Linked DNA regions of Homo sapiens: region 1 is linked to region 2. The links are contacts of gene promoters, found by promoter capture Hi-C in human tissues and cell types (Jung and others, 2019). All regions are on one chromosome and are shown on one strand. Each heading gives the region's core, a stretch centred on a gene start or on the middle of the fragment in contact. The rest is flanking DNA. Distances are from core to core; before and after follow the strand shown. Region 1 overlaps CHST6 (carbohydrate sulfotransferase 6). Region 2 holds the start of BCAR1 (BCAR1 scaffold protein, Cas family member).

Region 1 (6,264 bases), core at 768-3,267, 220 kb after region 2:
GTCAGGAGTTTGAGACCAACCTGACCAACATGGTGAAACCCCGTCTTTACTAAAAATACAAAAATTAGCCGGGCATGGTGGCATGTGCCTGTAATCCCAGCTACTCAGGAGGCTGAGGCAGGAGAATTGCTTGAACCTGGGAGGTGGAGGTTGCGGTGAGCCGAGATCGCACCATTGCACTCCAACCTGGGCGACAGAGCAAGACTCTGTCTCAAAAAAAAAAAAAAAAAAAGAAAAAGGGCCAGGTGTGGTAGGTCACACCTGTAATCCCAGCACTTTGGGAGGCCGAGGCAGGCAGATCACGAGGTCAGGAGTTCCAGAACAGCCTGACCAACATGGTGAAACCCCATCTCTACTAAAAATACAAAAATTAGCCGGGCCTGGTGGCATGCGCCTGTAATCCCAGCTACTTGGGAGGCTGAGACAGGAGAATTACTTGAACCCGGGAGGCAGAGGTTGCAGGAGCCGAGATCGTGCCATTGCACTCCAGTCTGGGCAACAAAATGAGACTCTGTCTCAAAAAAAAAAAAAAAAAAAAAAAATCAGCTGGGCGTGGTGGTGGGCGCCTGTAATCCCAGCTACCGGAGAGGCTGAGGCAGGAGAATGGCGTGAACCCGGGAGGTGGAGCTTGCAGTGAGCAGAGATCGCGCCACTGCACTCCAGCCTGGGCAACAGAGCGAGACTCCGTCTCAAAAAAAAAAAAAAAAAAAAGTGGAAGAAATCAATTATTGTAGGGTTACATAATCAATTATGTATTACATTAGGAAACATTATTTTGAATTTAGAATTCGATCTTTAGTTCATTTATGAATTGACAGGTTAAAAAAAGACATTTAGCCTTGCAGGACTCAGAAAATGGAGGTTTCCTGGGCCCTGTCTAAGGAAGCCAAGGAGGCGGTCCAGCACACCAGACCCCCTGGCCCCTTGCTGCTCTTTCAACAAGCCAGATGCCTCCCCTCCTTAGGGCTTTTGTGTTAGCTCTTTCCTGCTCCCAGACAGGCTACCCATGATTGCCCTTAACATACTCCCTCACCTCCTGTAAGACTTTCCTCAAATGTCGCTTTCTCACTGAGACCTACCCTGATCACCCCATTAAAAATTACAACTCACACCTCTACACACATATATTCCTCATCCCCCGATCCTTCTCTACTTTAATCCTTGGCACTTTCTAATATGCTAAATAATGTAGCCATTTATTAAGCTTATTCATCAGCTATCTCCCCACCATCAGAATGCAAGTTCCTGAAGGGCAGGGTTGTTGTTGTTGTTGTTTGAGAGAGTCACACTCTATCGCCCAGGCTGGAGTGCAGTGGCGCGATCTCAGCTCACTGCAACCTCCGCCTCCCAGGTTTAAGCGATTCTCCTGCCTCAGCCTCCTGATTAGCTGGGATTACAAGCGTGCACCACCACCACCACGCCTGGCTAATTTTTGTATTTTTAGTAGAGATGGGGTTTCACCATGTTGGCCAGGCTGGTCTCGAACTCCTGACCTCATGATCTGCCTGCCTCGGCCTCCCAAAGTGCTGGGATTACAGGCGTGAGCCACTGCGCCTGGCTGGTTTTTGTTTTGTTTTGTTTTGTTTTGTTTGTTTTTGAGATGGAGTCTCGCTCTGTCGCCCAGGTTGGAGTCCTTTGGCGCCATCTCGGCTCAATTCAACCTCCGCCTCCCGGGTTCAAGCAATTCTCCTGCCTCAGCCTCCTGAGTAGCTGGGACTACAGGTGCATGCCACGATGCCCAGCTAATTTTTATATTTTTAGTAGAGACTGGGTTTCACCATATGGGTCAGGCTGGTCTTGAACTCCTGACCTCAGGTGATCCACCTGCCTCGGCCTCACTAAGGGCTGAGATTAGAGGTGTGAACCACTGCACCCAGCCTAGGGCAGGGGTTTTTGCTTTTTGTCTGTTTTTGGTCCTGCTGTATCTCCAGCTCCTATAATAGCCCAGTGCCTGGTTGGTGCTCAACCCATAATGTGTGTTGAATGAATGAGTGGAGTTCTTGAGGACTGGGAGCAGAATAACACAAGACTTGCAGGACAGGCCAGGTTTTCTGGTCTTACTCCCAAAGGAGAAAATGCTCGATTGGCTGGAATGAATTGCCATCTTGGAAAAATGGATAGTAGGCCAATCCTTTCCATTTCATCAAGACTTTAGCTCTGGTTCTTTCGTTTTTTGTTTGTTTGAGACAGAGTCTCGCTCTATTACCCAGGCTGGAGTGCAGTGGGGCGATCTTGGCTCACTGCAACCTCTACCTCCTGGGTTCAAGCAATTCTCATGCCTCAGCCTCCCAAGTAGCTGGAATTTCAGGCACATACCACCACGCTTGGCTACGTTTTTGTATTTTTTTTAGTAGGGACAGGGTTTCGCCAAGTTGCCCAGGCTGGTCTCGAACTCCTGAGCTCACGCAATCTGCCCACCTTGGCCTCCCAAATTGCTAGCATTACAGCTGCACCCAGCCTAGCTCTGGTTCTTAAGGAACATGGTCTGAATAGAGTCATTCACAGAATAAGGATTTGCACTGTGAGAGGATATTTAAATTGTAAGAGAATCTGCTGGGGGCAGGTGGTGCTTAAATCTAAATCCATTAACTTGTGAAGGTAGTCGGGATAACCCACTGGACCTCAGCATAGGGGTCACTCGACCTAAAGAAATTGCTCGCCTGATCCACTGGTGTGGAGTGGGCCTGTGGGTGAGGGACAGATTCCAGCCCATGGTGGTTTCAGTGTGTGATGAGTGAGATCATTCAGTAGAGGGCGCTGGGAGAACTGATGACTCGCACCGATCAGGAATATTGCATGCAATTTAGATCCAAGCGTAAAACACTAGACTACTAAAGTACTGGAAGCAAGCGTGAAGACCATTTTTATCACTGTAGCAGGACAAAGTCGTTTCAACAAGACATAAAATCCACTGGCCATAAGGAAAGGATTCACATTCAACAATATGATAAACTAGGTGAAACTTTTTGAAATTTGATTGTGATGAGGTGGTGATTTGATTTCACAGGTATATACAAATGTTTAATCAAACTTTACACTTTATGTGCAGATGTTGTATATCAATTATAGCTCAATGAAGCTTCTTTTTTTTTAAGAAGCCTGAGGGGAAAATGCCATAAAGTAAGTTAACAAAACAACAACAACAAAAAACAGATGACAAGCTAGGAGAAACCATTTGCACAACAAAAATAACAAAGCATATTCAAAAGAGGCTGTGGTAAGTCAACAGCAACATGGGCACAGCCTTGAACAATGAAAAAGGAATACAGTTGAGTCATAAGCATGAAAAGATGTTCAGCTGCCCCAGGAATTAAAGAAGTGCAGACTGAAACATCAAGTAACATTTTTCACCCATCAGGTAGGCAAAAATTAAAACCATTGATTTAACCCTGTAGAGGTGATGGGGCAGTTGTGGCAGTGGTGGGGCGCAGTCTGTAGGAGTGGGTGACAAAGGCACATCAAAGACAAAGCTAGGGGACACAGGGTCTGTGGTGGCCATGAGGAGTTGATACAGTGTTGATGTGGATAATATATCTTCTTGATGCAAAATAACAAAAATAAGGCCCACCATTGATTCCCCAACAGCCTCTTGATAGGTGGGTTCTCTGACCTATTCCAGGCAACACTGTTTCTATGCACCCATCAGCCCATCTAGTGCTTTGATTGCCCCTTCTGAGCTCCCACAGCCAGAGCAGAGGCAGCAAGCGTGCCTGCCCCTAATTGTGGGTGACTGCTGGGCCTAGACACTTCTAGCTGCATCACAGGGCCTACAGGTAAGGGGAGACACTAATTACAGCCCTACCAGCAGGGAGGGAGCCTGGACCCTGGTGGAAATTGGAAGCTGCAGGTGCCAGGAGCCCTCCGTTCTCAAGTGTATCGGTTAGGCAATGCTACGTAACAAACCACCACAACACTCAAATGACTGAAACACAATAAGCACTTTTATTGCTCCTAAAGTCTTCGACTTGGCCGCAGTGCTGGGCTCAGCTGGCCTCGCTCATATGTCTTTATAGCTACTCTTCTCAAGTGGTGGACTCAGTTTCCCCACCTCTGAATCTGGGTGAGCCCTGGGACTCCCTTTGGCCAGTAGAAGGTAGCCGAAGTGGCTGCGTGCGGATCAGCTGGAGCTGGCTGGTCTAGGATGGCCTGGTTTGGGACCCCTGAACTCTCCTTCTCATGGTCTCTGCTTGTCCAGCAGGCTGGCCTGGGCTTTCTCCCGGGCAGAGGCGGAGGTCCGAAGCAAAGGAGCAGCACGCAGGTTCTCTTCAGGTGGAGGAAAGCAGAGGCGTCAGCTCAGACTATGCCTTTTTCACATAAAAAATGATTTTCAGCTGAAGGCAATTAAGAAGCAGAAAGTGCAGGAAAAGTTCAGGTTTCCCTCCCCTTTTCTGCCTAAAGGCACGATATAAACTCTCCATCACTGGACACAACCCTTGACTCAGAGGTGGTACCAGAGGCTGCTGCAGACAAATCCTGTTGCATCAGCTTCCTCTCGGATATTTACCATCCCATAGTTTACCACCTTTGGAAGCCTAAAACTGTTGTCCTTGGTCATCCTATCTCTACAAATTTATTGTATTTTTTAAAAATGCTGTGTAAGACAGTGTTCCAAGCCATCACTTTGTTACTTTTCATTGAGGCTTATCCTGAGTGATGTTGGCTGCCTGTGTTAACAAACTGTTTTTCGCCAGGTACAGTGGCTCATGCCTGTAATCCTAGCACATTGGGAGGCCAAGGCAGGTGGATCACCTGAGGTCAGGAGTTCCAGCCCAGCCTGATCGACATGGTGAAACCCCATCTCTACTAAAAATACAAAAAAAATTAGCCGGGCGTGGTGGTGTACATCTGTAATCCCAGCTACTCGGGAGGCTGAGGCAGGAGAATCGCTTGAAACTGGGAGGCGGAGGTTGCAGTGAGCCAAGATGGCGCCACTGCACTCCAGCCTGGGGGACAAGAGCAAGACTCTGCCTCAAAAAAACAGAAACAAAAACATTGTTTTTCTTTGTGAATCTGTCTTTTCATTAAAAAGTCTCTCTTAATCTGTTTTGTTTTGCTATAACAATACCACAGATGGGGTCATTTATTTAGAGATAGGTGTCTTGCTCTGTCACTCAGGCTGGAGTGCACTGGCATGATCATGGTTCAATGTAGCCTCAACCTCCCAGGGTCAAGCAGTCCTCCCAACTCAGCCTCCCAAGTAGCTAGGACTACAGGTGCACGACACCATGCCCTGCTAATTTTTTTTTAACTTTGTAGAGATGGGGTCTCACTATGTTGCCCAGGCTGGTCTTGAGTGCCTGGTCTCAAGTGATCCTCCTGCCTCAGCCTTGCAAAGTATTGGGATTACAGGCGTGAGCCACTGAACCCAGCAAGGGTCATATATAATAAATAGAAGTGTATTGGCTTACAGTTCTGGAGGCTGGGAAGCCCAAGATCAAGGAGCCAGCATCTAGCGAGAGCCTTCTTGCTGTGTCCTAGCATGATGGAAGGCATCATATGGCAGAAGGGCAAAGTGAGGGCGAGAGAAAGACAAAGAATGAACTCCTTCATTTAAAAGGCACCACTCTCAGGATAACCAACTCACTCCTGAAATAATGGTGGTTTTTTTTAAGACAGACTCTCGCTTTGTTGCCCAGGCTGGAGTACAGTGGTGCGATCTCAGCTCACTGCAATCTCTGCCTCCTGGGTTCAAGCGATTCTCCTGTCTCAGCCTCCCAAGTAGCTGGCCTTACAGGCATGTGCCACCACACCTGGCTAATTTTTGTATTTTAACTAGAAATGGTGTTTTACCTTGTTGGCCAGGCTGGTCTCAAACTCCTGACCTCAAGTAATCCGCACACCTCAACCTCCCAAAATGCTGGGATTACAGACATGAGCTACCATGCCTGCGCCCAGAAATAATGTTCTCTACCCATTCACAAGGGCATAACCCGCACGGCGTAATTTACTTTCCATCAAGCCTCACCTCACAACACTGGGGATCAAGGTTCCAACTTTGGGAGACACAATCAAATCACAGCAGAGCCCCAGCTGAAAACCTAAGACAGGTGGAGGTAAAGTTTTGCTTCCAAGGCCTATGCTTCAAACTGGCTCACAGGAAGTTGCACTACACTTGTCTACAGGACAAAGCAAGTCACAGGACCAGCCTGGATTCAGAGGTGGAGAAACAGACTCTACTTCTTGATGGCAGGAGCCATGGTCACACAGCACAGAGTGTCAACACAGCAAACCACTAACAGTGGTCAATGCAGTCACCCCCACAGC
Region 2 (6,245 bases), core at 952-3,451:
AGGGCCTGACAGAGGGCAGAGCCCCACCCTCTTACACGGAGACCACCCTGCAGCCCTTTATCTGGGGGCCAAGGAAGAGGCTTGCCCAGTGTCTTTGCTGGAGAAACTTCCCTATCACCCAATCCCACTCCCCACACTTCACCTCTGACTCCAAAACTGCCTCCTCTTAGAAGCCCCCCTGGAGCGCACCTCCCCTGCTGGTTGGTTCTAGCTGACCAGTTGGTTTAGCCGGCTGTGGGCTCCTGGGGGCAAGGGAAGGAGTTGTCCAGGCTCAGAAGAAAAGGGTGGTAGGACCTCCTAAAGGGACAGCAGATGCCAGGAGAGGGCCGCAAAGGCACAGCGTTGGAACCAGAGGGTTCCTACCAAGTTGACAACTCCAAAAGAGCATGGTGGTCCCCCAAGGACCAGAGCTCCCCCAATCCCAGACTGGGAATTCGGAGGCCACATGTGGTGCTGCACTGGGGGGCCATGCCAGAAGACGAGGTTCTGGATCCAATTCTGAGGACAACTGACTGTCTCTCTGTACCTCAGTGTCCCCATCTGCACCATCCGTATAATGGGAAAGGGGTTTGAGGAGCTGTCTCAGGGCCCCTCCTGTACAGACAGGAGGCCCTAGTGGCACTGTCCTTATTTCCATCCCTCGCCTAGACCTGGGGCCATGGTACCAGTACACAGTGCTCACCCTCCTGCTCAGACAAACAGTAACGGCCAGAAGCTCCAAGCCTCCTGCCCCAGCCCAAGGTGACTTTCCTGGCAGAACCTGGGACTGCCCTGCCCTGCCCTGCCTCCACCCAGCTCCCGGGCAAGCAGTGCCAGGAGGAAGTGTCAGCAGCTCCTCCCCAAAGCTCTTTTCCCCACAGCCCCGCCACCCCCGTACCTGGGCCCCGATTCTCCAGGCACCCCGACACCTGCTCTCACAGGCCGGCCAGCCCCCACCACCCAACTCTCCACCGAGGGAAAGGAATGGGCACAAGAGGGGGCGTGTCCCGGCCCAGGGCGATGGGAAACATCTCACTAGCAAAGAAGAGATCAACCCATGGTCATTCTGAGAAGGTGACCAAAGCTGCGGCGGGCCCCGGGAGGGGTGTGGGAAAGGAAACCAGGGACTCTCAGGAGGGAACGGGAGCCTTGTGGTAGAAAAGGAGCTGCTGTCCCCGATCTGGAACTCGAAACCCCAACATCTTCCAGGCCGTAAGCCCCTCACCCCGCACCCCTAGGCAAATCTCCGCTTTCCCAACTCCCTCACCTCGGTCCAGCGATCAGCCTCTCGGACCCTCGAGAGGGAGCTCCGACCCTGCTCTAGCTCTTGCGGGTCCCCCAACCATGGACTCCAAAGCCTTCATGTCCACACTGCAGAACCCGGCCCTGGCCCCCTCCCGCGACACTCGCGTGCGGCTAGGACTCCTGTGGCCAGGACCCGGCTTCCACCGGCGCTCGGCGTGCGGGGCTGCAAAGCCCGCGGCGCGCCCGCCCCCACTCCCGCTCCGCTCCCGGAACCCCGCGCCGGCGGCCGGAGTGAATCATTAACTGGAGCCGGGTGCTCCGGCTGCGCAGCCTTCCCCGCTGGCGCCACGCACTTGCCCGCCCGGCCTCGGTCCCCCGGAGCTCCTCCCTCTCCGGGAGCCGGTGGGCAGTCCCCACGCCACACCAGCCGGACCACCCGCCAGAGGCTCAACGGCCCCTCCTCGCAGCCGAGGAAACTGAGGCTCGGAGGCAGGGCGCAGAGGCCCAAGGTGACACAGCAGGCGGCCGTCGGCCGGGGAGCGCGGGCCCCGCCAGCCACTTTCCCGACACAGGAACCCTCCTACCGGCTGGCGGCCCCCGCGCCCGGCCCCGCCAACGCACCCGAGGCGCACAGGCTCCGGAGCCCCCGCGGTTCCTGCCTCCCGGCTTCCCGGCCAGGGCAGAAGGAGATCCCAGGGCCGCGGACCCCGGCCGGCGGTTCCCAGGCCCCGCAGGTCCGGCAGGAAATGCCGCTCGCTTAACCCCTTCCAGCCCGCTGCCGCCTCCAAGCCCGTACGCGGCCCGGCCCCACCTGGCGCCCTCACCAGGTGGTTCATGGTGTCCGGCGGGCCTGGGGCCCCGGCTCTCGCGGGGGCGCACACCGAGCTGCCCGGGCCGCGTGCCCTCGGGGCTCCGAGCGCGCCGCAGCCGCCCCGGTGCCGCCGCGCAGCTGCCGCCTCGGCCACCCAGAGCCGGTCCAGCCGCTCTCCGCCTGCCGCCACGGCCCAGCCGGCCCAGCCCGATCCCAGCATGCCCGGCCGCGCGCGCCCATTGGCCGCCGCCGCTCTCCATGCAAATAAGCCGCCTGTCGGGGGCGCGGGCGCGCAGACAGAAGCCCGCCCAGTAGGGGCCGCCCCCCGCCCCGCCCCCCACCTCCAACCCCGAGGCTCCAGGCCCCTGCCCGAGGCCAGGCTTCCAGCCTAGGGCGCAGGACACCGCTCTCCAACAAATGCACGTCCCCGCCTTCCACCCAGGCGAGAACGCACCGAAGGCCTACGCAAACTCCTCCACTTCTGGGAAGGCTGCCCGGTTTGCCTTCTTCCTCCAGAGCCGAGACATGGCCTCAAGTCGACTTGTCTTTCCCGCTAACCAACCCCAGGGCATTCATCGCGTGTCCATGGGCCGTGGGACTCAAATCTGAATCTAGAGGGAAAGGGGAGGGGGCGTGCCCCAGCCTGTAGGAGACGAATCATCACCACCACAGCTCCGACTGTAGACGGTCCCACCGTGTAAGGACCCCAGGAAATGAAGCCTCAAGCAGGGAGGCTGGCGAGCTCTCGACCCAGCGCTTTTCACGGGCAGCACCTACCTTCCCCTGCATTGTGCCGACATCTGGGGACTCGGGCTGGTCCTCCAGCTGATCTGCCTCCTCTCATTACTCATTCCTAGGTTCAGCCTAAAACCTGGGCCTAGTACCCTCCTGAGTCCTGCTCCAACTCATCTGCTTCAGCGACATGGGGTAGGAGAGCGGCACTGGGGGAATGAGGGAGATAGAAGGAAGAATCACTCGGGGGAAACCGAGTGGAGACAACCTTGGCTCTCCTGAGTTGCCCCTTGCTCGGTTGCAGGTCAGTGACTGTCACCCCATGCAGCAGAACCAGGGTGCCAGAGCCCCTGGGCCAGGCCAGGGAGGCACAATCTGCAGGGAGATGATAGGACCGAGCCTGGTCCAGACCAGACAGGACCCTCAGTCAACAATCCTGGGCCACTGGCTGAGCAATGGGATGCCACGAGGCAGCCCTGGTGGCAGGGAAGCAGCGGGGTAGACCCGGCTTCACGCAGCAGAGAATTCTCAAGCATGGCCTATGGAAGACACAAGCCCAGGTGGGCCTGCAGCTGCCCCTCTGTCTGACCCCCAGGGCTCAGCCTACGCAGCGCCTGGCCAGATGTGCCACCTTGGCAGGCCCTCTCCCCTCTCTGGGCTCCTTTCTCATCTGAAAAGGGGCTAGGACAGCCCATGATTTGCTGCTCAGGTGCTCTGGGGAGCTAGTTAAAAAACAGACTCCTGTGTCCCACCCCTCCCAAAAAACTGGACGTCTGCATTTCTTCAATATTTGGCTTGGGAAGCATTGGCCAGAACTCACAGCACAGCGGGTGAGGAAGGAGCAGTGGGATGAGACAGAGCATGACCCAGAGTCCTCAGGAGGAACAGAACAGCTAGCCAACACCCTGTGCCTCCCCGACACAGCCCGCCTCGCCTCAGAAGAGGAGCCAGCCTTCAGGGAAGCTGCCTGGAGCATCTCCTCCTGCTTGTTCCCAAGAGCTGTGCCGGGCCCCTCCTGCACCCTGACCCTGTCCAGCCACCCACTCCTCAGCCTGGCTGGCACACCAGCTTCCCAGAGAGCAGGTCTGAACCAGCGGGACCCTCAGGAGCCTGAGGTCATCCCTGGGCCTCCACTTCTGTGGGGAGGGGAGACCAGGCCTCATGGGCAGGCAGTGCCCTGCTGGCAGGGCCCCAGGCAGCAGTCTCTGCAGGGACGGGCAAGGACACAAAAGGCCTGGCCCTCAAGGGAGCTGGCCCCTGCTCCATCCTAGTTGGCCAAGGAGGGCGGTGCAGAGAGGAGGTGGATGGCTGGAACCTTGGGGGATGAGACCCTCCTCCCCCAGTAGCTGCATTAGAACAGCACTGGGGGTGGGGCTGCTGGTGTGAGCAGGAGGCAGCAAGGGAAACAGGCTCCGACACAGGCATTTCAAAAATTTGCTCCTTTTCCACTTAAATTCCCTCCCCCAAAAGCCTGTGCCTCCCAGAATGGCATTTCCGCTTTGGAAACAAGGCCCCAGAAGTTAAGCCCCACAGTGTTGATGGGGATGTAGCTGGGGGGTGGGGGAGGAGCACCCACTGGCCAGGCTCTGGCCGGGGTATATGGGGGCAGAACCTCACCCCACCCCCAGTCCAGCCTCCCGGACCTCCGCTGTCAAGGACAGGGATGCAGCCCCACATACCCAGCACAGCCTCTGCGCCCAGCCAGTGCCAGGGGCCCTATGCCCATGCATTTATTTTGTGCACACAGCAATCCTGCAAAACAGGCTCACCGTTAGCCCCAATTTTTTTTTTTTTTGAGATGGGGTTTCACCATATTGGTCAGGCTGGTCTCGAACTCCTGACCTCAAGTGATTCACCCACCTCAGCCTCCCAAAGTGCTGGGATTATAGGCGTGAGCCACTGCACCCAGCCTAGCCCCATTTTTCACATGAAGAGACCGAGACCCAGTTTACCAACCACTGCCCCATCCCACACATTTCGGGGCACAGAAGGGACAGGGCCAGGGAAGAAATGGGGCTGCTAGACCTCAGCCCACCCTGCAGCAGGAAGGGAATCTAGGGACAGGGACAGCAGCACTCCAGGCTCAGAAAGCCAAACACCCCTGTCACACTCAGACTGCAAAAGGACAGGCAACTGAGACCTAAGCACCTTCCTCCCCAGTAAAACTGAGCTCAGCACTGGGGCCAGCACCACCCCCACCCCACTAAGTTTAGCCCCATTGGTGAGAAGGGGTGCAGTAAACATTTGTTGACTGGGTGGGACCTCAGAGGTGGCCCTCATGGGATAGGCTGGCCTGGGTGAAGAAATCTGAGGCTGCCCCAGTCTGGAGGATGGGGGTGGTTAAGTCACGCCTAAGTGCAGAGGCACACACTTGCATACACACAGCACACACGCATGCGTATACACACAGTGGGACTGGCAGCAAGGAGAGACGCCCTGAATAAGGAGGAGCTGGGAGAGGTTGTTGCCAGACCAAGGGAGACAGCTGCAGATATGTGGCCGGGGCACCAGCACAGGGCCCTCCCAGACAGTTGTGTCATCCCAGGAGTGGCCTGGCACCTCCAGCCAGGTTGAAGATGAGCTCACAGGCTGGAAGGGATGTCTCCAACCCCTCAGGGCCTGGAATAGCTGTTTGTACAGAAAACAGGTGGACCCAGCACACCAGGACACTAAGTGTCTGGAGTGGAGGGGGTTATACTGGACCCAAGTGGAAAGATAAGCCTGGGATAGGGTTCCTGCTCTTTGGGCTTTCTGAGATCTGCCTTCAGGACAGACCCACTGCACAGAACTTTTCTTGCTCAATGCTCACCAATGTCCACTGCAGCATTTATGACAGCAAAGCATGGAGCAAAACAGGCTCACCTATCAATGCTAATTCTAGGGGACCGGTGAGACAAACCACAGCGCCTCAGTAGAATAGCTTGCAGCTATTAGATGGCCTCTTCCAAAGACTGAAATAATGCAAGAAAATGCTTACAACAAACTAAAGTGAAAAGAGCAGGCTAAAACCAGTTTGCACAGTGTAAAGGCACACAGCCCCCTCCCCTCCTGAAGCCTCGGCCTCCCAGCAGCAGGGAGGGTGGACTCGGTTGATGGCCAGCTCTGGGAGCGGCAGCAGGAGAGGATTTCCTGAGGCCGGAGGTGAGCACTGCCAGCCCCAGGAACAGGAAGAAACGGTATCTCTGGAGGGCCAATGAGAGCTGACACCATCCCCCTAGGCTGGACACTCACAGTGGCAAGCTCAAAACCAAGGCAAGGCTGGGCAAGGTGGCTCACGCCTGTAATCTCAGCACTTTAGGAGGTCGAGACTAGCCTGTCCAACATGGCGAAACTCCGTCTCTACTAAAAATACAAAAATTAGCTGGCCGTGGTGGCGGGCACCTGTAATCCCAGCTACTCAGGAGGCTGAGGCAGGATAATTGCTTGAACCAGGAGGTGAAGCAGTGAGCTGAGATCACGCCACTGTACTCCAGCCTGG

What was found. Contacts are between HindIII fragments. The study calls those that stand out against the background at their distance.
Region 1: a fragment that was not itself captured here is called in contact with the fragment with the promoter of BCAR1 in region 2 in 2 of the 25 tissues and cell types used here (lymphoblastoid cells and pancreas).

The regions. Positions count from the first base shown.
Region 1 is chr16:75,469,205-75,475,468 of GRCh38, forward strand. CHST6 (carbohydrate sulfotransferase 6) reads right to left here. Exons shown (of 3, transcript NM_021615.5): 3 at 2,848-6,264. Among named protein-coding and RNA genes, the nearest start is that of TMEM170A, 7.6 kb to the left of the region's middle. RefSeq lists an enhancer at 2,445-3,087. The HindIII fragment of the contact is 5,677 bases long and covers 1-4,856 here.
Region 2 is chr16:75,249,423-75,255,667 of GRCh38, forward strand. It overlaps BCAR1 (BCAR1 scaffold protein, Cas family member), which reads right to left and starts at 2,202. Exons shown (of 7, transcript NM_014567.5): 1 at 2,049-2,202. The coding sequence starts at 2,060. RefSeq lists silencers at 2,085-2,244, 2,305-2,414 and enhancers at 2,414-2,954, 3,495-4,035, 4,036-4,575, 4,576-5,116, 5,656-6,196 and 1 more. The HindIII fragment of the contact is 33,708 bases long and covers 1-6,245 here.